4 separate regions of the Homo sapiens genome follow, and all the other regions are linked to region 1. The links are contacts of gene promoters, found by promoter capture Hi-C in blood cells and fetal thymus (Javierre and others, 2016). All regions are on one chromosome and are shown on one strand. The core of a region is centred on a gene start or on the middle of the fragment in contact, and the rest is flanking DNA. Distances in the headings are between cores, read along the strand shown.

What was found. The method cuts DNA at HindIII sites, captures the fragments that hold promoters and counts their contacts. A CHiCAGO score of 5 or more calls a contact.
Region 2: a fragment that was not itself captured here is called in contact with the fragment with the promoter of GPR61 in region 1 in 3 of 17 cell types (M2 macrophages, M0 macrophages and erythroblasts); the score reaches 5.8 in M2 macrophages.
Region 3: a contact is called between the fragment with the promoter of CELSR2 here and the fragment with the promoter of GPR61 in region 1, in 12 of 17 cell types (naive CD4 T cells, erythroblasts, total CD8 T cells and 9 more). The highest score is 9.7, in naive CD4 T cells.
Region 4: the fragment with the promoter of PSRC1 here is called in contact with the fragment with the promoter of GPR61 in region 1 in 8 of 17 cell types (activated CD4 T cells, naive CD4 T cells, total CD8 T cells and 5 more); the score reaches 11.3 in activated CD4 T cells.

Annotation. Positions count from the first base shown.
Region 1 is chr1:109,537,115-109,543,136 of GRCh38, reverse strand. It overlaps GPR61 (G protein-coupled receptor 61), which reads right to left and starts at 3,265. Exons shown (of 2, transcript NM_001393907.1): 1 at 3,184-3,265; 2 at 1-715. The coding sequence starts at 114. RefSeq lists enhancers at 2,751-3,250, 3,251-3,752. The HindIII fragment of the contact is 3,019 bases long and covers 2,309-5,327 here.
Region 2 is chr1:109,944,242-109,950,263 of GRCh38, reverse strand. No RefSeq gene overlaps it. Among named protein-coding and RNA genes, the nearest start is that of CSF1, 36 kb to the right of the region's middle. The HindIII fragment of the contact is 2,020 bases long and covers 1,804-3,823 here.
Region 3 is chr1:109,247,075-109,253,096 of GRCh38, reverse strand. CELSR2 (cadherin EGF LAG seven-pass G-type receptor 2) reads right to left here and starts at 3,558. Exons shown (of 34, transcript NM_001408.3): 1 at 1-3,558. The coding sequence starts at 3,017. RefSeq lists enhancers at 1-23, 1-58, 3,521-4,241 and silencers at 1,911-2,101, 3,200-3,299, 3,460-3,519. The HindIII fragment of the contact is 8,037 bases long and covers 1-5,487 here.
Region 4 is chr1:109,281,895-109,287,916 of GRCh38, reverse strand. PSRC1 (proline and serine rich coiled-coil 1) reads left to right here and starts at 4,772. Exons shown (of 8, transcript NM_001032291.3): 1 at 4,772-4,854; 2 at 5,181-5,237; 3 at 5,342-5,399; 4 at 5,857-6,022. The coding sequence starts at 5,219. RefSeq lists enhancers at 4,261-4,310, 3,678-4,403. The HindIII fragment of the contact is 13,254 bases long and covers 1-6,022 here.

The DNA of each region.
Region 1 (6,022 bases), core at 2,016-4,515:
ATCCCGTAGCCCCACCTCCGGGACCCCACTGGCAGTAGAGGGACCTGGGGTTTGAGGGACCCTCCCCAAAGTGGAAGAGTTCCCTGATGACTGGGGGATGGGTGAGGACTCCATGGGGCCGAAAGAGGGCACCCAGGGTACCTCCTGTCACAGGCCCATCCCCCATCCTAGTCCAGCGACCCTGGGATGGCGAGCCCAGGCCCAGGCTTCCTGGTTTCGTAGGGGGCACCTCCCACTGGAGCCTCTTGGGCAGGTTTGTCTGCGTACAGAGCGCCAGGCCAGGCAGCTGAAGGATCAGAAGCTCATCCCCTTTCTGGCCGGAGGTAGCTGCAGGGTCTGCCTTGGTGACTGCTAAGAAGCAGGAGACGTGAGAGGTGCAGGAGCCTGACCCACTCAACACTCCGCTTTCGGAATGGCCTTCACCTCTTCCTTTTCCATCTCCTTTCTGCCATTCTTGTTCTCCATACCCTTCTACCCTTTCCAGAACTGTTAGCCGGGGATTCTAAATCCTGTTTCTCCTTCCCAGGGTCCTGCTGATCTCTGGGATAGTGCCTCAGTTTTAGGGTTCCTTATGTAAATTTCCTGATTTCTTGTCTCCTCAGAATGGCAAGAGCTGCTGGGGAGTAGAAGGAGCACAAAATTTAGTTTCTAGTCCCAGTTCTGGGCATTACTAACTCTGTGAATCTTCTGAATTTCAGTTTCCTCATAAATCCATCTGTAAAATGAAAGGAAGAACACTTGCTTCACAACTGTGTTTCTGGATCCTGCGTGATTTGTTAATAATAATACTAATGACAAGCAGTAGCATTGATACGGCGTTTTCCACATGCCAGACCCTGTTCTCAGCACTCTACCTATATTAACTCATTTTATTCCTCACACAACCCTATGAAGTAGATAATATTTTTATCTCCATTTTGCAAGAGATGAAGCTGAGGTCTAGAAAGGTTAAGTAACTTACCCAAGGTCGCACAGCTAGTAAGCGGCAAGGGCTGGGCACCTACCTGGGCAGTCTGGCCCCAGGTCCAGTACTCTTGCCCACTGTGCCATGCCATATGTGAAGGTGCCCTCCGTGCCGGCTGGACTATAATAGGCATCCAGTAAATAGTTGTTGAATTTCAGCTGTCTCTAAAACTGTCTCTTGCTGCCCTAGGGTTATCATCTGAAAAGGGGAGCTGTGCTTTAGGCTCTTTTGACATCACTACTCCCAGCACAAAGAGCTGCCACTTTGGGAATGTTGAGTAGGAGCAGTGAAAACAAAATGTCCCGTCTGGAAGGAAACTGGGAGGCCAGCTCATCCAGCCTCCACTGCTCCCAAAGCCGGAAGTTGCTTCAAGCTGCCCTTCTCCACCCACTCATGAACTCTTCAAGGCCACTGTGCCCCTCTTGTGGGAAAGGAGCTGCTGCCAACCTCCTGCTCCCCAGATCCCCAAATCTCTGATCTCTGGAGCTGACCCTTGGAGGATCCCTGACCAAGAGCCGCATTGGTTCTAGACTTACTACAGTCACAGAACAAGAAGTAGGGAGGAGACACTGAGGTTGCTCAGTTTAAAAACCCATCATTTCTATGGCTGCAATAAAGAGGATCACATGGCAAGATGGGCCCCACTCTCCTCCACAGTTATAGCCTTACAGTCACCTTTGGTTTTTGGTGTTTCCATAAACCTTACACCAATCCAACTTCTAACATGCTATGCATGCAATAGGTGCTGAATACAATTTTGTGAATTGAATCAAACTCAAATTGGTAGTTGAATCCCTGCCCCCTAGGACAAACTCCAAGAACACTCAGTCAGCCAGCTGTGTGCCAGCCAAGGGACTCTCTTGTGGAAAGGGTAGCCGGGGTTCCTGGACTTGAGGAAGCCCTAACTTTGGGCAACTGCCTAGAGACGTGCCTCTCTCTAGGGACACAGAAAGCTCATTTCACAGTTAAGATGCCCACAGAGACTTAGAGTCTGCAGAGAAGTTGAAGAGCGGGCACAAAAGTGAGACATCAGCTTCTCATTAGAGTCTACCAGGAAAAATGCCTGAAAGAAATGCTAGGAGAAGCATCCTTCCTTCTTACTCTCCATGCTCTGATTTACCTATCCCTTCTGTCTGTGAGTGAGGCCCAGAGGATGTGGTTCAGAGTCCCTCCCTGGTGGCTGAAGGAGGAGAGGCCCACCATGTCTGGATGGACATCAAGAGTCCCAGACGGAGGGAAGCAGACCTGGTTTCCACGTGGAGCTGGAGGGATGCCACGAAGCCATGATGGAGCCCTGAGCAAGAAGGCATTGGACATTGCTCTTTTTCATAGCTCCCTCAAGCTTGCCAGTGTCTCCACAGTGACTCCTAAATGCCAGGATTCCAATTTACCTCTTAACAGACAGATCAGTGTATCTGGCTAATGGGCACTCCCTCACTAATGGACTGGGGTTATGGAGGGGAGGGCTGTGGTGTAACAGTTTCATAGGTGAAACCCAGGGAGCCTCACTCCTCTCCCAGGTCATATCATTATGCCTACTCCCCCAACAGATGCTTTCCTTCCCCCACTACTTACTTCCAACAGCACCCCTCTTACCTCCAGGACCTTCAGTACCTAGAAGGCTTTGCCACTAGGGCCTGAGGTCTGGGCCTCTAGCAGGGGCATGGTCAAGTTACAGGATGCAAGATGTGCATAAGTGCCCAGCCCAAGGCCACAGAGGTATTGGGATTCACATGCACCTGTTTTCCAGATCCAGAGCTTCCATCCCAAAGACCTGAGCCTGGCCTTCCTTCAGACAAGAGCGTGCCCCTCCTAAGCTAGGGAAGATTTCCAGGGAGCTACAACACCTCTCCTCAGCAGAGTTGCCCACGCCCAGGACACAGTTGCCCATCAGCCTGTATGCTGAAGGGCCCATTCCTAGAATGTGGGAGACCCATGTCCATGACATGGAGCAAGACAGATGGAGAATGCTGTTTGTCTGCAGGATGTGGGTACTCCTGCCGGCAGGAGATGATCAACCCCCCAGCTCTGGGCTTCAGAGATGCCCACACCCCAATACCGCCTTTGGGATACCTGAGAGCCCATCTCCTGATCAAACTGCTCACCGGAATGTAGGCAGGGCTGGTCCTTGGAAAGCCACCCTTCTGTGGGGATACCTTGGCACTCACCACCAGGCTCTGGGTCTGGCCCCCATTCCTGGCCTAGTCGGCAACTCCTACCTTTGCTGAGCAGTCCCGGCTCCCATGTGATAGCTCCTCTCAGCTGATGCTTCTCCAAGGCTGCTGAAGCCTGAAGCACTGCAGTGAGCGGTGAGAGGCAGCCGGCAAAGCAGAGTGCTCCGAGAGCCTCTGGGTCCTAATGGCCTCCTGCTTCCCACCCAGCCCCTCAGAGTCACTTCTGGAGCAAAAAGGTGGGCACCAATGCCCCAGGCAAGGTGCCTGGCAGTGAGCTCAACTCCTCTCACTTCTCTCAGGCTGCTGGATTGCGTCTCAAAAATTTCGTGGGGCCAGGAAATGATAGGTAGGGGAGACCCTCTTGACCAGCCTGATGAAGTAAAAAAAAAAGTACATGGAGTCAGAAAATCCAGGTTTAAGGCCTGGCTATGGCACTTACTAGCCGTGTGACCTTGGGCAAGTTGCATTTTGGCCTTGATTTCTTAGCAGTTCAAAGAGAAGATAGGAGAGATGCATGGTTCTGTGTGACATCAGAACCAAGGTGCTGATGCAGGCAGGTCAGCGCAGACCCAGGGCCCCAAGGCTTAGGCCAGGGAGGCGGCTGAGGCTCCAGGGGATGGTCCAAGGTTTGGCCCCTTTGGAAGCTGCCTAATGCGTATGGGGGACAGGTTTAGGAGCAGCACTCAGGTTTGAAGGGCAGCTGAAGGCTTTGTCTTAACCCTGCCCTTGCCTCCCAAAAGCACATTATTATTATTTGCTTAGATTGTATGTTTATTGGAACTGGGGCTGTGAGGGCTGATGGAGATTGGCAGGGAGGGGGCGGGAGGATCTAACATCCCCCCGAGCCACCATGGGAACCACCACAACACTGCTTCCTGAAGGAGACAGAGTGGGGGCCAGGGACTCAGGAATGCTCACACTGATCTGGATTTGTGGGACTGGACAGAGCTAGGTAGCATCAGCCACTGAGCATCGCCCATCTGTGGCATGATGGGCCTTCAGAGACGCAATGAAGGGGCATGGCCTCCCTCTAGCTATGAAGAAAATGATCATTTACCCGGGTACATGACTGATACCCAAGGATAGAATCCTAACATTGCAAAGCTGTAGGACATCCTACAGGCCAAGGTATCCATGTTTCTGAGACCCAGAGAGATAAAGAGATTGCTCAAAGCCACATAGCTCCACATGGCAGAGCCATGAGTCTAAACAGGGAATTCAGGCATGATCCCCTACTCCAGAGCCTGCTTCCCTGAGACTTGCCTATCTAGGGACTCCTTCTGCCTCTAAGAAGGAAAAAGGGAATTCTGGAATTGTTTACCAGACCCAACCCAAAGAGCCATAAGAACAATGAGTTACCCAAGGACCTCACTGGGACAAGTTGGCTGCCCCAAGCCCCAGGTCAAAAACAAAGAGGCCACTGACAAACCAAGAGCCGATGCAGCAAGTGCCGCTGTCACCAGCCACCACTTTTTGAGCTGTTATGAGTGCCAGGCCCTTTACATACAGTTTCTTTGATCCCCACACCAATCTATGAGGCAGCCATGACTTGCCCTATTTTATAAGTGAGGAACCGGGTGCTGGAGGAGAAGTGACTTTCCCCAAATCACACAGCTAATAAGTGCAAGAGCTGATATTTGAACCCAGATCTGTTTGAAGTCCAAGTATTTCCTCCTCCTTCTCCCTTCGTTCCGTGGCCTCTCCAGTGGCCTGACACAAGACTGTGGACTACAGCCCTAAAAGCTATCTTCATAGAAGTAGTCACTGCCTTCCAGAAAGCCTAAAACAGACCTCAAAATTAGGCATACCTGCGTACAAGAAATTCAAATGGAAATACCAAATTGAAAACCTGTAGACAGCAAAGTGATTTTTAGGAAGCCCTGTGCTGTTGTGTTGGCAAGATTAATTTGGCATCAAGCAGATTGTCTGGGATTAGGTAAAGCCTGTCCCTGCTCAGCACCCACATTCTTCCTGCAGGGCCCCAGCCCAGACTGGCATGGCCCCTTCCGAGGGATTCAATAAGAACTGGAGCAGACCTGGGCCCACTGGAACAGGATTTTAGAAAGAGCGCTAGACTGGAGTCAGAAAACCTTGGTTCCAGTTTGGCGCCATTCTATTGGTTGGTGGTAAGACCTTGGCCTGTGAGTTGGCTGTCTGTGAAAATGGGCAAAATTCTTCACTTCCAAGCTTATCTAATAGTGGTAGGGAGCCTGCAAAACAAACATAGCCTGCCTCTCCAGCTTCAGGGAGCTAGCACAGGTAATCACAGCTCATGTGGTGGCCAGCAGGCAAGGCGTCCGTGTCCTGAAGCCCCTCCCAGAGAGCTATTGGGAAAGGCAGTACCAAAGAGGCAGCATGTTCCAGCTGTTGGAACCATCTTGGCTCAGGAGGTCGGCGGGGGAACTGCTTATTCTAGCCTGTGGGCAAATAATAAATAATAATAATAATCATGCTGGCTGGGCACAGTGGCTCACGCCTGTAATTCCAGCACTTTGGGAGGCTGAGGCGGGCAGATGATTTGAGATCAGGAGTTCAAGACCAGCCTGGCCAACATGGCGAAACCCCGTCTCTACTAAAAATACAAAAATTAGCTAGGCATGGTGACACATGCCTGTAATCCCAGCTACTCAGGAGGCTGAGGCAGGAGAATCGCTTGAACCCAGGAGGTGGAGGTTGCAGTGATCTGAGATCGCACCATTGCACTCCAGCCTGGGCAATAAGAGTGAGACTCTGTCTCAAAAAATAATAATAATAAATAATAATAATAATAATGCTACTAGTTCTTGAAGGCCCACTTTGGGAGGCACTTCTTATGCTGTATCTTATTAAATGATCTCAGTCAGGGTGTGGAGTAGCTACTGACAGCACACCCCCAACCCCACCT
Region 2 (6,022 bases), core at 1,564-4,063, 410 kb before region 1:
CCTTCGCACCCAGAATGGTACCTGGCACATAGTAGGTGCTTAACACATATTTGTTGAATGAATGAATGAATGAATGAGATAGAACAGAAATTCCTGTGGCACTGCTATTCTATTTTATAAACTTAATTTATGACAAAGCAGAAGTAACACAAGGCAGAAAGAGTTCATTGCTTGCTAATTGTTTGAGCAATGAAACAATAAAAAGGGAATTTAATATCTTAGAGTAATACATGGCATTATGTATAATAATACAGCCAGGCATCGTGGCTCAGGCCTGTAATCCCAGCAATTTTGGAGGCCTAGGCAGGCAGATTGCTTGAGTTCAGGAGTTCAAGACCAGCCTGGGCAACATAGTAAAACCCCATCTCTACAAAAAAAAAATACAAGAATTAGCCAGGCATGGTGGCACATATCTGTAACCACAGCTACTCAGGAGACTGAGGTGGAAGGATCACTTGAGCCCAGGAGGTCGAGGCTGCAGTGAGGCCAAGACCATGCCACTTCGCTTGAGCCTGGGCAACAGAGTGAGACCCTGTCTCAAAAAAAAAAATAATAATAATAATATAAATTTCAGATGATTAGAGTAAAACCTACACCAGTTTTTGTTTGTTTGTTTGTTTGTTTGTTTAAGACGGAGTCTCACTCTGTCACCCAGGCTGGAGTGCAGTGGCGTGATCTCGGCTCACTGCAACCTCTCACTCCTGGGTTCAAGTGATTCTCCTGCCTCAGCCTCCCAAGTAGCTGGGATTACAGACATGTACCACCACACCCTGCTAATTTTTGTATTTTTAGTAGAGAGGGGGTTTCACCATGTTGGCCAGGCTGGTGTTGAACTCCCTACCTCAAGCGATCTGCCAGCCTCGGCCTCCCAAAGTGCTGGGGTTACAGGCGTGAGCCAACGCACCCAGCTTAGTATTTTTTTAAATGGGAAAAATAACATGGTTATCTCATGTTTGAAGGGGTCGTAAATGTCTGACTATTGAAGAAATGAAAAAAATTTATTAAGGACAAGGTAGAGAAATATAAACATATATTATTATTATTATTATTGTTATTTAGACAGGGTCTCACTTTGTCCCTCAGGCTGGAGTGTAGTGGCACAATCTTCGTTCACTGCAGGCTTGACCTCCTGGGTTCAAGCGATCCTCCTGCCTCAGCCCCAGAAGTAGCTGGGACTAAAGGTACATACCACCACGCCCAGCTAACTTTCATATTTTTTTGAAGAGATGGGGTTTCACCATGTTGGCCAGCCTGGTCTCGAACTACTGACCTCAAATGATCTGCCCGCCTCACCCTCCCAAACTGCTGGGATTACAGGCGTGAGCCACCACACCTGGCCAAATATATAAAGATTACTCTGAACTTTACAGCAGCTACATACAAGACTATGCTATAGAAATAAAAGATGTGACAAATATTAAAAGCTTATCCCCAAGTAGAAAACAATAGATGGAGAAAATACTGGCTTGTGTCTGGATTCTACTCTGTAAATTGTCAAAGGAGAGGAACAGTTTATTCCCCCCAAAAAGGAAGAACAATTATCACATAAAAAAATACAGCCTTGAAAGTAATAAAGAGAAGCCCATTTAAACAACTTTAACATATCATTCTAGAACTATTAGACTAGCAAAAAGCTAGTAAAAGTAATAAATCCCATGTTAACAGAACTGTGGGGAAACAGGTACTTATATGTTGCTGGTGATAATGTGAACTTGTGCAATCTCTTAAACAATAAAAGGATATGCATCAAAGGCAGTAAAAATGCTCATATCTTTTGGAGTATTTATTCTGTTTTTGGAAGCTTATCTACAAGGAAGTAAATAAACCAAAAATTAAGCAAACAAAAAAAAATCAATCTGTTTCATACTGTGTAAAAAAGTGAAACTTGAAAATGACTCAGGTGCCAAATAATAGAGGAAATTCTAAGCAACTTTTCTTATAATAACACACTGGACAATTAAGAATGAAAATCTGGGGACTTTTTTTAACATGAAAGAATGTGAATGTCAACACAGCAGTGCTACCACCTGAGATGTTGAAGTGTGATTTTTCTGTAATAAAGCCAAGAGAGGTCACCCCTGAGATCAGAATTCTAATCTTTGGAACAATGCGCTGCCCAGAACTTACTGTACTAGGTGAAGAATCCTCTTACACAGGGTTATGCCAACCTGCCAGATTGAAAAGTCTAAGAAACTCCCTGGTGAGGCTTGAGGCTTGAAGTAACGATTTCATTTCACTTCATGGACGCTATTAACTCGGCCTCATGGACACACTTGTCCTGCAGTAAGATGAAGAGAGGAGGGTGCCCAGGCAGGCAGGACTGAAAGGTTCAGTTTCATTAGGAACTGGGTGCCCAAAGGAGGAAGCTGTAAGCCACGCTCCTGGAAAGTAGAGAACTTCGCAGGGAGCATGGGACCAGGGAGGAAGTGCCTTCTAAGGCTGCAGGAGTGGCAGGCCTTGGGACGGGAAAATTCCAGAGTAAAGATCCATTGTGAGGGAATTTCGCCTGTGTGAACCCAGAGCCTTCTGTAAATGCCACGGGATGCCTGAAAGTTCTAAACAGGAAACATGGCAAGACGGAGAGGAGCTACAATTTATTTGTCCAACTCATAATGCAGGTAAACAGGAAGATGAGATGTTTTGCCTACCTGCATGCCATGCCAGACTGCCTGGGTTTGAATTCTTTTTTTTTTTTTTTTTTTTTTTTTTTTTTAGATGTAGTCTCACTCTGTCACCCAGGCTCAAGTGCAGTGGCATGATCTTGGCTCACTGCAACCTCCATCTCCTGGATTCAAGCAATTCCCCCTGCCTCAGCTTCCCGCGTAGCTGGGATTACGGGTGTGCACCACCATGCCCACCTAATTTTTGGATTTTTAGTAGAGAAGGGGTTTCACTACGTTGGCCAGACTGGTCTGGAACTCCTGACCTCAGGTGATCCACCCGCCTTGGCCTCCCAAAGTGCTGGGATTACAGGTGTGAGCCACCACACCCAGCCCTGGCTTTGAATTTTGACTCTACCATTTATTAGCTGTGTGACCTTGGGCAAGTCACTTACACGCCTGTGGCTCAGTTTAACAACAGCACCTTCCTCTTAGGGATGCAGTGAGGTTTAGGTGCAACAAAACAGGGAAAGCTCCCACATTGGGATTCTCATTAACTGCAAGCTCCTATCATTATTTTGTACTAAGGTTATCTTGCCATGCAGCAAAGTGCCTGGGAGCACAGCTCAGAGAATAAGAAAGTTTGGATCAGATAGAAGCATCAGGAATTTATAACCAAGAGCTACCCAAAACAGTGAGGATCTGGGAGGAGGAAGAAAGAAAGCCTTCAAGTTATTTACACTGGAGATGCTAGGCTGGCGTGGGAAGGTTGGATGCCCTAAGCCTTCAGGTCTCAGTTGGGCTACCAGGCAGGTTTCTCCCCTCACCAGAGGCCGTCTCACAGTCAGCCTTGGGACCCTGGCTAGAGGCAGTTCTCCTTGAATTGCTTCGAGTGAGGCAGGACTGGTCCCAAATGGAGTCATGGGGTCATTGGGCACTAGACCACGGGTGCCTTGAAGACCTCACTGTGTGAGAGACAGATTGAGAAACACATCCAAGAATTTAGGAAGTAGATAGTGCTTTTTTTTTTTTCTTCCTGCTGATTGCCTGCCCATTGGTTGAGAGTGGGTAGTGTCAAAATTAAATCCTGATGCTTGTGCATTTTCCCTGGGAAAAGTTACAGATTTCGCTGGCTGAGGCAGTGGATGGGCGGGCAAGTGCAGGGACTAAGTGAAGGGGTCTGGAGGAGGGAAGAAATGTCTTCAGGGCATTTTTCGGAAGCTTTGCTGTGCAATGTGTTGTATAATCTTCTCCTCTATGTCCCAAGATAATTGTGCTAAAGACTGACATTTATTTTAAGGCTTTAAAAAAAAAGTTAGCTTTAGATTTCTTTGGAATGTTGTGCTGTGATGCTCCCTAAGGCACAAGCAATAGAAGTCTGTAAGTATGGGATTGTTCATTCACACAATCATTATTTATTAAGCACCTACTGTATCTGAGGAGCCATGTTAGGAGACGAGAATAGAGAGGTAGATAAGGTACAGTCTTAGTCTTCAAGTTGCTCACAGTGTACTGGAGATACAGATAAATATACAAATAATAGGTAAATTGTTGGTGTAATAATAATTGCGGTAGGCTGAATAATGTCTCCCAAACAGATCCAGGTCCTCGTGTCTGGAAACTAGGAATGCCATCTTACCCAGGTGGGCCCTAAAGGTGATCAGAAGAGTCCTTATAAGAGGAAGGCAGGGGGAGATCTCCCCACAGAAGAGAAGGCAATGTGATGGCAGAAGCTGCAATTGGTGTGATGAGCGTTGAAGACGGAGGAAGGGAGCGCACACCAAGGAATGCAGGAGGCCTCTAGAAGCTGAAAAAGTCAAAGAAACAGATTCCCCCTCAGAGTGTCTGGAAGGAACCAGCCCGACCCACACCTCGACTCTGGCCCACTGAGACCAATTTCAGACTTCTGAACTCCAGATATTTAAGATAATAAATTGAATCAATTTGTGGGGGTTTTTTGTTTGTTTTTGAGACAGGGTCTCACTTTGTTGCCCAGGCTGGAGTGCAATGGTGCCATATTGGATCATGGCAACCTCTGCCTCCCTGGTTCAAGCAATTCTTCTGCCTCAGCCTCCTGAGTAGCTGGGATTACAGGTCTGAGCCATCACGCCCGGCTAATTTTTGTATTTTTAGTAGAGACCAGGTTTTACCATGTTGGCCAGGCTGGCCTAGAACTGCTGACCTCAAGTGATTCACCCACCTTGACCTCCCAAAGTGCTGGGACTACAGGTGTGAGCCACCACACCCGGCCAAATTTGTGTTGTTTTAAGTGACTAAGTTTGCAGCAATTAGTTATATCGGCAATAGGAAACTAATACATTAGTGTTTAGTGAAAGAAGAGGCACAGAATGGAATGGACATCCTGACAATTGCCCTGCAGATATGCAGCTCATCCAGGTGTCAGAAGGGAATACAGAGAAGTGGTGCTATTGACTCTTGCCATAAAGGAATCTGGGAAGGACGTAAAGAACATCTTTACCTAGCACTGTGAGGTGTGGAGAGGTGAAGGGATTGGCCAGGGTCATACATATTCATTTACTGAGCATCTGCTCTGAACCAGCTCCTGTGTTGGTTTTGATGGGATATGAAAATAATTAAGGCAGGGTTCTTGCCCTCAAGGAACTTCCAGTCCAGCAGGGGAGAGCTAGCATAAAAGCTCTGGGTTATCATGACTTTGGACCAGTTATTTAACCTCTTTGGGTTTAGGTCCTTCTATGTAAACGATAGAAAGAGCTGCTTCACCAGATGTGAGGACCAAGTGATAAAATATATGCCAACTTGCTTTGTAATCTGTAAAGCATTATAGAAATAAAAGGTGTTATTGTAATTAGGTATAAGAAAAACAAGACACTCACTTAAGTAGCTTGAAGGCATATGAGGAAGACATAAAAAAACCACAAGACACTCACTTAAGTAGCTTGAAGGCATATGAGAAAGACATAAAAGACATACTGGAGATTCAGATGGAGTGACCGAAGAGATGAACTCAGCTAGCAGGATCAACACAGCTTTCTAGAGGAAGGACATTTTAGCAGGTTGTGGTGGGACAGGAAGTAGATGTGAGAAGGGGAAGGGGAGCGAGAGCCCAAGGAAGGGCAAGGAGGAAGAACATTTACTAGATGTGAATGTGAATGTGAGTGGCTGGAGATGAGGTTAAACGGTTAAATGATAGATTGGGCCCTGATTGTGAAGGGATAACCTGCGTCCTTTGTAGGTGACTTGAACCTCTAGATGATGAGGAATTTCAGTGGTGGGGAAGTTGGCACCTTCATAGGGCTAAATCTTAACTTTTCCATAAGCCCTTCTTAATCTTGCTTCCACCACCTCATCCCAGCTCCTCATTAAGGTGTCCAGAGCAGAACCCAGGTTGTGTGGCTCCAATCGCTGCTCCTTTCTCCATCAGTTCTATTTCAACACAAGGC
Region 3 (6,022 bases), core at 2,309-4,808, 290 kb after region 1:
CGGCTCACCAGAGGAGCTGACGTGGCCTGGATGACCAGGACGTACTCAGGCCGGTCCTCGTAGTCTAAGTCTACCAGGGCTGTCAGCTCCCCGGAGAAGATGTCCAGCTGAAAGACCTCAGGGATGTTGCCCTCCACAATCTGGTACATAATCTGGGCATTGGTGCCTTCATCGGGGTCAGTGGCTGTGACCCGGGCCACGGCTAGCCCAATGGGGCTGTTCTCTTCCACAAACACATCAAACTCATCCTGCTCAAAGACAGGGGGATTGTCATTCACATCCAACACAGTGACTGTCACTTCCATAGGTGTGCGGGCTGGGGGCATCCCCTTGTCCACTGCATATGCCCGCAAGACATACTGGGCCACGTTCTCTCGATCCAGCCTCCGTAGCGTTCGCACGATGCCTGACGTGGACTCAACAATAAAGTCACCGTCTCCATCGTCGCCTCCTTGGAAGGTGTAGAAGACCCTGCCATTAAGTCCAGAATCACGATCAGTGGCTGAGATCTGCAGGACGCTAGTGAAGGGTGGCACATCCTCATAGACACTGCCCTGGTAGGAGTCTCGCAGGAACTGAGGGGCATTGTCATTCACGTCGTTCACCAGGATCTCCAGGTAGGTGGTGTCGGACTTCTGGGGAATGCCATTGTCCCGAGCAGTAATGGCCAGGGTGTAAGACACTTGGTCTTCATAGTCCAGCTCAGCCTGGGTGGTGACAGCCCCCGTGTCTGCATCGATGCGGAACTGGGGGATGCTGTCCTCCATGAAGTAGGTGATGCGGGCATTCTCACCTGTGTCCTCATCCGTGGCGCTGATCAGCACCACCGTGGTGCCTGCCGGCCGGTCCTCATTAACATTCACTGTATAGTGGGAGCTCTGAAAGACAGGACGATGGGTGTTGGCGTCGGTGACATTCACCACAATCTGTGCCGTGTCCTGCCGAGTGCCATCGGAGGCGGTAACAGCCAACACATACTGCCGCTCAAGTTTGTAGTCCAGTGGCAGGGCAAGGGATACCAGCCCACCACCACTTTGGCTGGTGATGGAGAAGCGGTTTCGAGTATTGCCACTGGTGATCTGGTAGGTGATGACACTATGAGCATCACGGTCCACAGCTGACACCGTCACCACGCTGGTGCCCACAGCTGCATCCTCATTGAGCCGCACTGTGTACTCTGGTTGGGTAAAGGTTGGATTGTTGTCGTTGACATCCAGGACAGTCACGCTGACACTGGCCGAGGCAGTGAGTGCTGGAGTGCCATGGTCTCGAGCTTCTACCCCAAAGCTGTAGAAATCAACTTCCTCCCGGTCCAGTTCAGCAGCCACAGAGATCCAGCCTGTGCCATTGTTGATGGTGAAGGGGAAGTCATGTCCCACCCCAGCAAGGCGGTATTCCAGGCGGGCATTGTCACCAGCATCAGCGTCGATAGCCTGGACATGGAGAACCAGGTAGCCTAAGGGGACACTCTCCAGGACAGTAGCCTGGAAAGGGGTGCTGACGAAGATGGGGGCATTGTCGTTGATATCCAGGACCTGTACTGTCACCAAGCCAGAGACATTAGAGAGTGGGGGACGGCCACCATCCTGTGCTCGCACCCGTAGGGTGTACTCCTTGGTCGTCTCATAGTCAAGAGGGCTCACCACATCCAGAGCTCCAGTCTGGGCATCCAGATAAAACTGTCCCCGAGCATTGCCACTCATGATGCTATAGTGCACCACGGCATTGCTCCCCTTGTCTCGATCCGAGGCTGTGACTCGGAGTACTGGGGCCCCTGGAGTCACATCCTCCCTCACCTGGACCACATAGCGCTTCTCACTAAACTGGGGGGCATTATCATTGTCATCCTCCACAGAAAGGAAAACAGCGGCTGTGGTACTCCGAGGACCCGGGTCCCGACCCTGGTCACTTGCCTCTACCGTCAGCTGGTAGGATTCCACCTCTTCCCGATCCACAGGGCCACGGGTTCGGATCACCCCAGAGCGAGGGTCGATCTCAAAGACTTCAGAGGGGCTGCCCCCAGACCCCTCCAGCAGGCGGTACAGAATATTGGCATTGGGAGGGGCATCACCATCCGTGGCCCTGACAGTGAGCACCTCATAGCCAACCTCCAGGTTCTCCCTGAGGCTCTCCTTGTACTCCTGCTGCTCGAACACAGGGTCATGGTCATTGGTGTCAGTAACCAAGATGGTGAGTGTAGCCAGGGCACTTCGTCGGGGCATGCCGTGGTCCTGCGCCGTGACCCTGAAGACGTGGGTGCTCTTGGTCTCACGATCCAGCTCCTCGGCTGTGGTTACTGCACCAGTGACTGGGTCCAGGGAGAAGAACTGGTTGGAGCGGCTATCAAAGAGGGCATCCATGGTGTACTCCAGTCGACCTGCCTCACCCTCGTCCGGGTCGATGGCCCTCAGGGATGCAACAGGGGTGCCTGCTGGCTGGTTCTCCGGCACTGTGGCCTGGTAGCTGGGGGGCTGGAACTGGGGGGCTGTATTTACATTCCTTTTCCGACGCCCACCCAGGGACTCTTCTGGTGACCTTTCCCCTGCCCTGAGCCCGGGGGCCTGTGCCAGCTTGCAGGACTGGCATCTGAGCCGTGGAGCCTTTAAGCACGGGTGCTCCTCGGGCAGTGTGAGCTTGCCCTGTGGGGAAAGGTGGCCTCCAATGCCCAGGAGGCGACAGCTCCAGGGGCAGCCTTCAGGAGCTGGTGGTAGGGGAATATGGGCCTCGGATTCTGGACACCAAACCCTCAGGCCATCGTGGTGGGGTACCAGGTGGCCAGTCAGCTCAGTGCCCGCATCCCTGCAGCGGCTGGTGTAGAGCCAGAGGTTCGACGCTGAGGATGGACAGAGCCAGCCCATGGGGGCGCAGGCCCCCGAAGAGCCTCGTCCCCTGGACCCCAAGGAACGACAGGGCCCCACTTGGTCTCCCAATAGTGGCGGCGGCAGCAGCAGCAGCAACAGCAGCAGCAGCGGCGGCGGCGGCGTTGGGAGGGGGACGCCGGTGGCCGGGCTCCGCATCTCTCCCAGCTCCCGGCCGGCGGCCGGGTCAACGGCGGCGGCGGCTCCTCCTCCGGCTCCTGCCGGCCCCGCCGCGCCTCATGCCCGGGCCAGGGCGCCAGTCCCCGGGGGCCTCCCGTGCGCCCCGCGGGGCCTGCGTCTGGATGGCTCGGCGGGACCCCGCGCTGCACCCTCCGACGAGCCCGGGCTCCCACTGCCCCCTGAGCCAGACCCGCTCCCGGGTCACCCTGAGCACCGCGGGCTGCCGCCGCGCCTCCACCTGCGCTCCGGGCACTCACCACCTGCGCCCGGGGGCCCCGCGGCGCCCCTGGCCTTGCCGGGCCCCGGGTTCCGGAGCCGGGGTGCCCCCTCCGCCCCTATGGGATCGCCCACCTGCGCCCGCGTAGCCGTGCGCCCCGACCCCGGCCCGGCCCCGGCGGCCCCCGACGGTCCCGCGCCGCCCGCTCGCGCCCCGCGTCCCCGCCGCGGCTGCTGCCTGTCGCCGCGGCCCCGGGCCCAGCCCCGCGCTCCCTCGCCTCCCCGGCGGGCGGGCGAGCTCTGCAGAGTCGCGGCGGCGGCTCATTACCATAGACCTGCTCGCGCCGCGGCCGCCTTAAAGCGGCAACGCCGGCCGCGCTGGAGGAGGTGGGCCCCACCCAGAGCACTCCTCCGCCCAAAGCGCCAGGATTCCCTCCAGCAGGACCCTCCATCCCAATTTCCCCAGGCCGGCCTCGCCAGATGCCCGGTGCGAATTAGCGATCGGAAGCCACACAGCCGATGATAATCATGGTGGAAGTACCCTAAGTATGCCTAGAGGTTTCCAAAACATTTTAAGGGCTCTCAGAGGCCAAGTTTCCAGTTCATTCCAGTCATAAAAGCCCTCGTTGCTGTCCCCTCCCATAGGTCAGACAGAGTTAAAAGGGCCCTGAGCAACACAACAAAGCCTCCAAAATCCCAGAGAAGCACCCACAATGAGTCACCGGGCCCACTCGCTCCCTACCGTCCCCTCCACCCCACCAGCGAGGCTGTTGTCTGACCAGCATGCCCCTTGGGGTCGGGCTGTTGGAAGAATGACCCCAGCCTCATGTTGGACACCACTTGGGCTTTTCCAGGGAAGTAAATTAGAAGGGTCAGAGTGGGTGGAAGCCAGGTGGTGCAAACACACTGTCACCAGATTCGGAGGCCGGCTGCGGTGGAGCCTAGCTTTAACACAGGCTTCCTGGATTCTAGACAAGGGGCTTACACTGCCCCCTGAGGTCCTGTCTAGAGAGGCGGCCTCTCATCCCCTCCTGCCTCCCTGTCCATGTCCTGCGGCTACCCCCTCCTTCCGCCACAGTTTTGTGACCAGCGAGGAGGCCTACCTGGTACCCGGGCTCCTGACCCTCTCCAAGGCAGCTTCATTTGAGAGGGTGTGCAGGATTCCAGGGGTTCTCCAAGAGGACCAGACATGAAGCTGGACCACACGGAGAGCCAGGCAGGAGCCGTGCAGGCGACCCAGAAAAGGCTTCCCTACATCCTGGAGCAGCCAGGGGCCCAGTCAGGTAGTCCCTGGGGGGATGCCCTGGCCTGGGGGGATGCCTGGGCCTGGGTCCCAGCCTCCAACACCACAGCTATGTGACCTTGCTCAAATTCTGTGCCTCAATGTCCCTTTTTGTAAAATGAGGGGATTGAATAAGGTGAATGGTTCTCAAATGTTTATTTAGCAGTAGAATTCTTTTCTTCAAAAGAAATCTGAAGTGGAAGGCCAGAATATAGAACAGATGAGTAGTGCTGCTGGGTTGAAGTGAGGGGGTCAGGGCCTTGCCCCTCTCCACCACTCCCCCAACCAAGAAATCCCTGGGCTGCTCTGTGCAACTTGAGGGTCTGGAGGAACCCATCTGAAAAGCACTGGATCAGGTGCTCCCTTCTACCACTGCCCCCGGTCACAGTGGTGCCACTCTCACTGGGTCACAGCAGAGGATCCCCCAGCCCCAGGCCCAAGGAGTGTCTGTGTGACCACACAGTGAGGCCAAGGATGAGAAATCAGCTTTTCTCTTTTCCCCTGGGGAAACAGGAAAGGAGATGGGCCTTGGGTACAGCAAGAAAGATTAGGGTTAGACTGTGCTCCTGGCAGGATGGATAGAAGTAGGAGGAGGACCCATGGCTCAAGGAAATGCCCTCCCCTTTGACCAAACAGGAGCTTTCTTCCTCTGAGCAAGGCCAAGGGCAGCTCTGGAGATGGAGGCGTGGGTTACACGCCTCCGCAGGGCTCTGCCTCTCTAGACTTCCTCAGACTCTGGAGTTTGGAAGGATCTAGGGGCTGCGTGGGCATTTTGTTCTTCACCTAATAGCCATGTGGTGCAGAGAATGCTTGGAAATTATACCATCTGTTAATTATCCTTTGAATTGGGGTTGGGTAATGAGACTCTCATTTCTGGTGAAGGCCCAAGCCAACCCGTGGAGAAGCTGCAACTCTCCATTCATCTCGCTCCCTTTGTTGCTAAAATAAGCTTTCTGGGTGGGAGGAAAGAGTAGCCCTGGCTCTGGATCACGGAAGGTGGTTCTGGGGCCTTGCACCTTGAGGCAGGGGTTGCCAGGGAAGGCATGAGCTCAGAAGCCCCTTCCAGGTGGGTGGCCTTTCCACCCAAAGGCAGATAGGTTGGGGGATCCAAGGAACCCTTTCCTTCATCCCCAAGCACATTTGGCAAATAGTCCTTAATCCTCCCCAGTCCTCCCTCCGGGGGCACAGGACAGAGCTCTCTCCCCATCACTTCCTCAGATACTTCCAACTCCCAAAAGCAGGAGGGAAATTTCCAAGTTTCATATGCATCACTGAGAGTCTCAAATGAGGGAGGGGTTGCCCTGGTGGAGGCCTCCCTGATCCCCAGGGAAGGGCTGCCTGCTTCATGGAGCTTTCCAGTTGTAAGGAACCTATGGACCTCCCTCCTGTGTGTAAGGGACATTTAGGCCTCCCTTCTGCATAGCTTTTAGGTGCTATCAAGGGGCAGCAAGGGCTTGGGGTCTGTTAAAAGAGAATTTATTGTTCT
Region 4 (6,022 bases), core at 3,523-6,022, 260 kb after region 1:
AGAGCTAAGTTATGAGAACACAAAGGCATAAAAATGATACAATGGACTTTGGGGACTCAGGGAAAGGGTGGGATGGGGTGAGGGATAAAAGACTACAAATTGGGTGCAATGTACACTGCTTGGGTGATGGGTGCACCAAAATCTCAGAAATCACCATAAAGAACTTATTCATGTAACCAAACCCCACCTGTTCCCCAAAGACCTATTGAAAATATATATATTGCACTGGTAAAGTCTCGTGTACATTGCCCATAACTGGATCCCAAAGGACAGGAGTTATTTGAAGCAGATGAGTGAATTTGCAGCATCTTTTAAAATAAATTTTGTGGGCCGGGTGCGGTGGCTCACGCCTGTAATCCCAGCACTTTGGGAAGCCGAGGCGGGCGGATCACGAGGTCAGGAGATCGAGACGATCCTGGCTAACACGGTGAAACCCCGTCTCCACTAAAAATACAAAAAATTAGCCAGACATGATGGCAGGTGCCTGTAGTCCCAGCCACTTGAGGCAGGAGAATGGCGTGAACCCGGGAAGTGGAGCTTGCAGTGAGCCAAGATCGTGCCACTGGACTCCAGCCTAGGCAACAGAGTGAGACTCCGTCTCAACAACAACAACAACAAAAGGAAAAAAAAAAAAAGAACAGTAAACTTTGTCCTTCATTTGCTTCTAAAAAAAGAAAAAGAAAAGAAAAATATATTTTGAGGTAAAATACTTTAATTTCTTTCAGGGCCTACTGTCTGTCATGTGATACTATACTAGAATCAGGCTGGAATTTGGCGTCTTATTGTCAGAGGCGTTTCGACCAGAGCAATTCCATCTTGAATAGGGGCTGGTTAAATAAGGCTGAGACCTACTGGGCTGCATTCCCAGACAGGAATTCTAAGTAACAAGATGAGATCCTAAGGAGGTCAGCACAAGATACAGGTCATAAAGACCTTGCTGATGAAACAAGTTGCAGTAAAGAAGCCGGCTAAAACCCACCAAAACCAAGACGATGATGAGAGTGACCTCACTGCTACACTCCCACTAGCACCATGACAGTTTACAAATGCCATGGCAACATCCAGAAGTTACCCTATATGGTCTAAAAAAAGGAGGCATGAATAATCCACCCCTTGTTTAGCATATCATCAAGAAATAATCATAAAAATGGGCAACCACCAGCCCTCGGGCTGCTCTGCCTATGGAGTAGCCATTCTTTATTCCTTTACTTTCTTAATCAACTTGCTTTCACTTTATGGACTCGCCTTGAATTCTTTCTCGTGTGAGATCCAAGAACCCTCACTTGGGGTCTGGATTGGGACCCCTTTCCAGTAATATTATTGCTACAAAAAGTCTGTTTCTGGCCAAGCGTGGTGGTTCATCCCTGTAATCCCAGCACTTTGGGAGGCCAAGGTGGGCGGATCACCTGAGGCAGTTCACGGCCATGGCGAAACACCATCTCTACTAAAAATACAAAAATTAGCTGGGCTTGGTGGCGTGTGCCTGTAATTCCAGCTACTCGGGAGGCTGAGACGGGAGAATCGCTTGAACTCAGGAGGCAGAGGTTGCAATGAGCTGAGATTGCACCACCGCACTCCAGCCTGGGCAACAAAGTGAGACTCCATCTCAAAAAAAAAAAAAAAAAAAAAAGTCTGTTTCCTTAGCCTTAAGATCTTTGTGGTTTTGTTGTTGTTATTGTTGTTGTTTGTTTTTTTTGTTTTTGAGACAGTGTCTCGTTCTGTCACCCAGACTGGAGTGCAGTGGCGTGATAGCTCACTGCGACCCCCGCCTCCTGGGTTCAAGCGATTCTCCTGCCTCAGTCTCCCAAGTAGCTGGGATTACAGGTGCCTACCACCATGCCCGGCTAATTTTTTTGTACTTTTAGTAGAGATGGTGTTTCACCACGTTGGCCAGGCTGGTCTTGAACTCCCGACCTCAGATGATCTGCCTGCCTCGGCCTCCCAAAGGGCTGGGATTACAGGCGTGAGCCACCGCCCCCTGGCCAGATCTCTGTTTTAATGTTAATGTTGGTCAGCTGTGCCTGATTCCCAAAGGGCAGAGAGTATAATGAGGCATGTCCAACCCCCACTTTCCATTATGGCCTGAACTAGTTTTCCAGGTTAAATCTGGAATGCCCTTGTCAGAGAGAAGGGGTCCATTCAGTTGGTTGGGGGGCTTAGAATTTTATTTTTGGTTTCCAGCTTCTTGGTCTCTGGTGGCATTTATTACAGTGACATCTCACTCCTGCAGACCTCACCACCTCAACGTCACAGCCAAAAACTAGAAAGTAAACAAGAAAGCCTATAAATGGCCAAAAAAATGGGCATGAACTCTGAGGACTAAAGCTCAGGTTCTGTTTACCAGAAAGCTCCTCAACCATTCCCTTAGGGCTTTTTCACTTTAAATATTCAGAACCTTTCTAGGAGCTCAGTTTATTACTGGAAAGGGGTCTTGATCCATCCAGACCCCAAGTGAGGATTCTTTGATCTTTCAAAAGAAAGAATTCAGGACGGGTCCACAGAGTAAAGTGAAAGTGAATTTATTAAGAAAGTAAAGGAATAAAAGAATGGCTACTCCATAGAGCAGCCCCAAGGGCTGCTGGTAAGCTATTTTTATGGTTATTTCTTGATTATATGCTAAACAAGGGGTGGATTATTCATAGGTTTTCTGGGAAAGGAGCATGATTTCCTGGAACTGAAGGCTCCTCTCCCTTTTATACCATATAGACGTTGCCATAGCATTTGTAAACTGTCAGGACGCTGGCAGGAGTGTCTTTTAGCATGCTAATGAATTACAACTAGCATATAATAAGCAGTGAGGATGACCAGCTGTCACTTTCTTTTTTTTTTTTTTTGAGACGGAGTCTCACTCTGTCGCCCAGGCTGGAGTGCGGAGGTGCGATCTCGGCTCACTGCAAGCTCTGCCTCCCAAGTTCACGCCATTCTCCTGCCTCAGCCTCCCGAGTAGTTGGGGCTACAGGGGCCCGCCACCACGCCCGGCTAATTTTTTGTATTTTTAGTACAGACGGGGTTTCACCGTGTTAGCCAGGATGGTCTGGATCTCCTGACCTCGTGATTCGCCCGCCTCGGCCTCCCAAAGTGCTGGGACTACAGGCGTGAGCCACCGCGCCTGGCCTACTTTCTTTACCATCTTGGTTTCTGGCAGATTTGGCCGGCTTCTTTACTGCACCGTTTTATTAGAGGGATGTTTGAGATCTGTATCTTGTGCGGACCTGCTGTCTCCTCCTGTTGTTACCAGAAAGGGGTCCGGATCCAGACCCCAAGAGAGGGTTCTTGGCCCTTGCATAGGAAATAATTCAGGGCAAGTCCATAAAGTGAAAGCAAGTTTATTAAGAAAGAAAAGGGATAAAGAATGCCTACTCCAGAGGCAGAGCAGCCCGGAGGGCTGCTGGTTGGCCATTTTTATGGTTATTTCTTGATTATATGCTAAACAAGGGATGAATTATTCATGAGTTTTCCGGGAAAGGGGTAGGCAACTCCCTGGAACTAAGAATTCCTCCCCTTTTTAGACCATGTAGGGTAATTTCCTGATGTTGCCATGGTATTTGTAAACCGTGGTGATGCTGTCTGGAGTGTCTTTTAGCATGCTAATACATTATAATTAGCGTATAATGAGGACTGAGGACCTCCAGAGGTCAGTTTCATCGCCATCTTGGTTTCGGTAGGTTTTGGCTGGCTTCTTTACCGCATGCTGTTTTACCACCAGGGTCTTTGTGACCTGTATCTTGTGCCAACCTCCTATCTCATCCTGTGACTTAGAATGCCTAACCTCCTAGGAATACAGCCCAGGTCTCAACCTTATTTTACCCAGCCTCTATTCCAGATGGAGTCGTTCTGGTTTGAAGCCTCTGACAAGTTCACTGGTGGCCCGGGCAACATTTAGAAACAACAGAGACAACACTCCTAACAAGTTGGTTTAAGCATTTTACAAATACTGCTTTTAGTTCAGAGGGGGCTACTTACAAACACCCCCTCTAAATCCCCTAAGGGCACACGGTAGAAAACGCCTTCATAATTATCCTCGTAACACCGTAACTGCGAGGACCAACATCCTCCTTTCACAGATAAGCGAAGAGAGGTGAAAAGAGGGCAAATATACTCAAGGCAGCCGCCTCTAAACCGAAACTTGGGTTCTGAGGTCAGTTAAACTTGGGTTGCATTTGAACCTAAGCCTGCCTGCGTGAAAAGCCCGTTGCTTTCTTTGCACCTCAGCTGCCTCAGGTTCTTGAAGAGGCGATGGAGGATGTACTTCTAAGAGAACCTCAATATACCTACAATATAAGTGTTTAGGTGCTCCCTTAACTTGGAAAAAACCCACAACTGAGGAACCTCGGCCAATGCGGCGCCTGCATATTGAGTGCGCCCAAGAAAACGAATTTCCTCCCGTAGAGCGTCGGTTAGCGGCCACGTTAGGCAGCACAACCGTTCTGGAGACTGGGTGCTCGGCGGCCCAGCAGAGGGAGCGGGGCGGGGCGCGAGTTCCATACTCGTGGGTCCGTTTCTTCCCTCCTGGCCAGCCGCGCTCTGCTCCCATCTGCCTACGGGAAAGAGAGTCTCCGCGCACGCGAGCACGCGCACTCGCAGCCTCAACCCTCGGCTCCGCCACCGGGATGCAGTCTTCTGGGAACGGTTCTCCCCCAGCCCCCACCGGCTGACTTCCGGCCGGCAGCTCCTCAGCCCCTCCCCCTGAGGATTCACCAATCACGGTGCGCGTGTGGCTTGAGTAGGTGGGGCCTGAGAGATTCGAAAGGAGCCCCGCCCCCTCGGAGCTGATTCCCGGGACTAGGTTGCGGGAGAAAGCCTGTTGCGTGGAAGATAAGGCGGCGCGGGAAGTGGACACAGGGTGGGCTGGAGGTGTGCTTCGCGTGTGATGCCAGGGGAGTGGAAAGGTGGCTTGGGGAGTGCAGAACCCTGAGGATAGTGGCGGGGAGGAAGATGGGGCGTGCAGGCCGCCCCCAGTGAGGAGAGGCCAGGATGCAGGGCGGCTCCAGGGCAATCTGGGCAGTTGGGGGAGCCCTCCGTATCGTTCCCGGAGGTAGCAGGAGTAGCTGTGCGGGAGGTGCCACTCCTGGGCGCTTGCTTTGCCTCCAGCATGACCCCCGACCCTGGCTTGCACCCTGAATCTAGCTGCGAGCCTTGGGCAGAATGGATACCTGAGGAAAGGTATGGTTTCTCTCCAGCTCAGATCTAACTGGACTCTCGCTCCTGCTGGCTGGACATGGAGGATTTGGAGGAAGGTAAGGAAAGGAGGGAGGGAAGAATGAAAGGGAGGAGTGAGACCCAGCGATGGAGAGCTGCATCAGGGACCCATGACTGGCTTTCATTCTTCTTTCCCCTTCAGATGTAAGGTTTATTGTGGATGAGACCTTGGACTTTGGGGGGCTGTCACCATCTGACAGGTACCAGCCTCTTTATCCCACTTATTTTCCTCTAACAGTACCTCTTTGTCTCGAATCCCTTACTGCTGAATTATTGGCTTGGGTTGGTAACTTAGCAAGGTTTGGCGCACTTGGGGCTGCTGGGCGGCTGGCTGACTCGGGCCTCTATGACACTATTGGTAGCGGGGAGAGAAGGGAGAAGCTGGAGTTAGATTTCAGGGTGTTAAGAAGAAGGATAAGTGGATTTGCTGCATCTCCATCCTGGCATCATTTCTGATGTCCGTAAATGCTAAAGGCCTATTAGGCCCCATAGAACCAGGTATCTCATCGCCCAGAGGCCACATCTCACAGCCAGCATGGGCATCGGGGCCTAGGGTCATGTCCCTGGCTCTGTTGTGGGGCTTTTATGCAGTCTCCCTTGCATAATCTCCTGTTCCCTTTTGCATGGGCATGATGCCTGGTTTGTTTCCTGTCTCAGCCGTGAGGAGGAAGACATAACAGTGTTGGTGACTCCAGAGAAACCACTTCGACGGGGCCTCTCCCACCGAAGTGACCCAAATGCAGTGGCACCTGCCCCCCAGGGTGTGAGGCTCAGCCTAGGCCCCCTCAGTCCAGAGAAGCTGGAGGAGATCCTCGATGAGGCC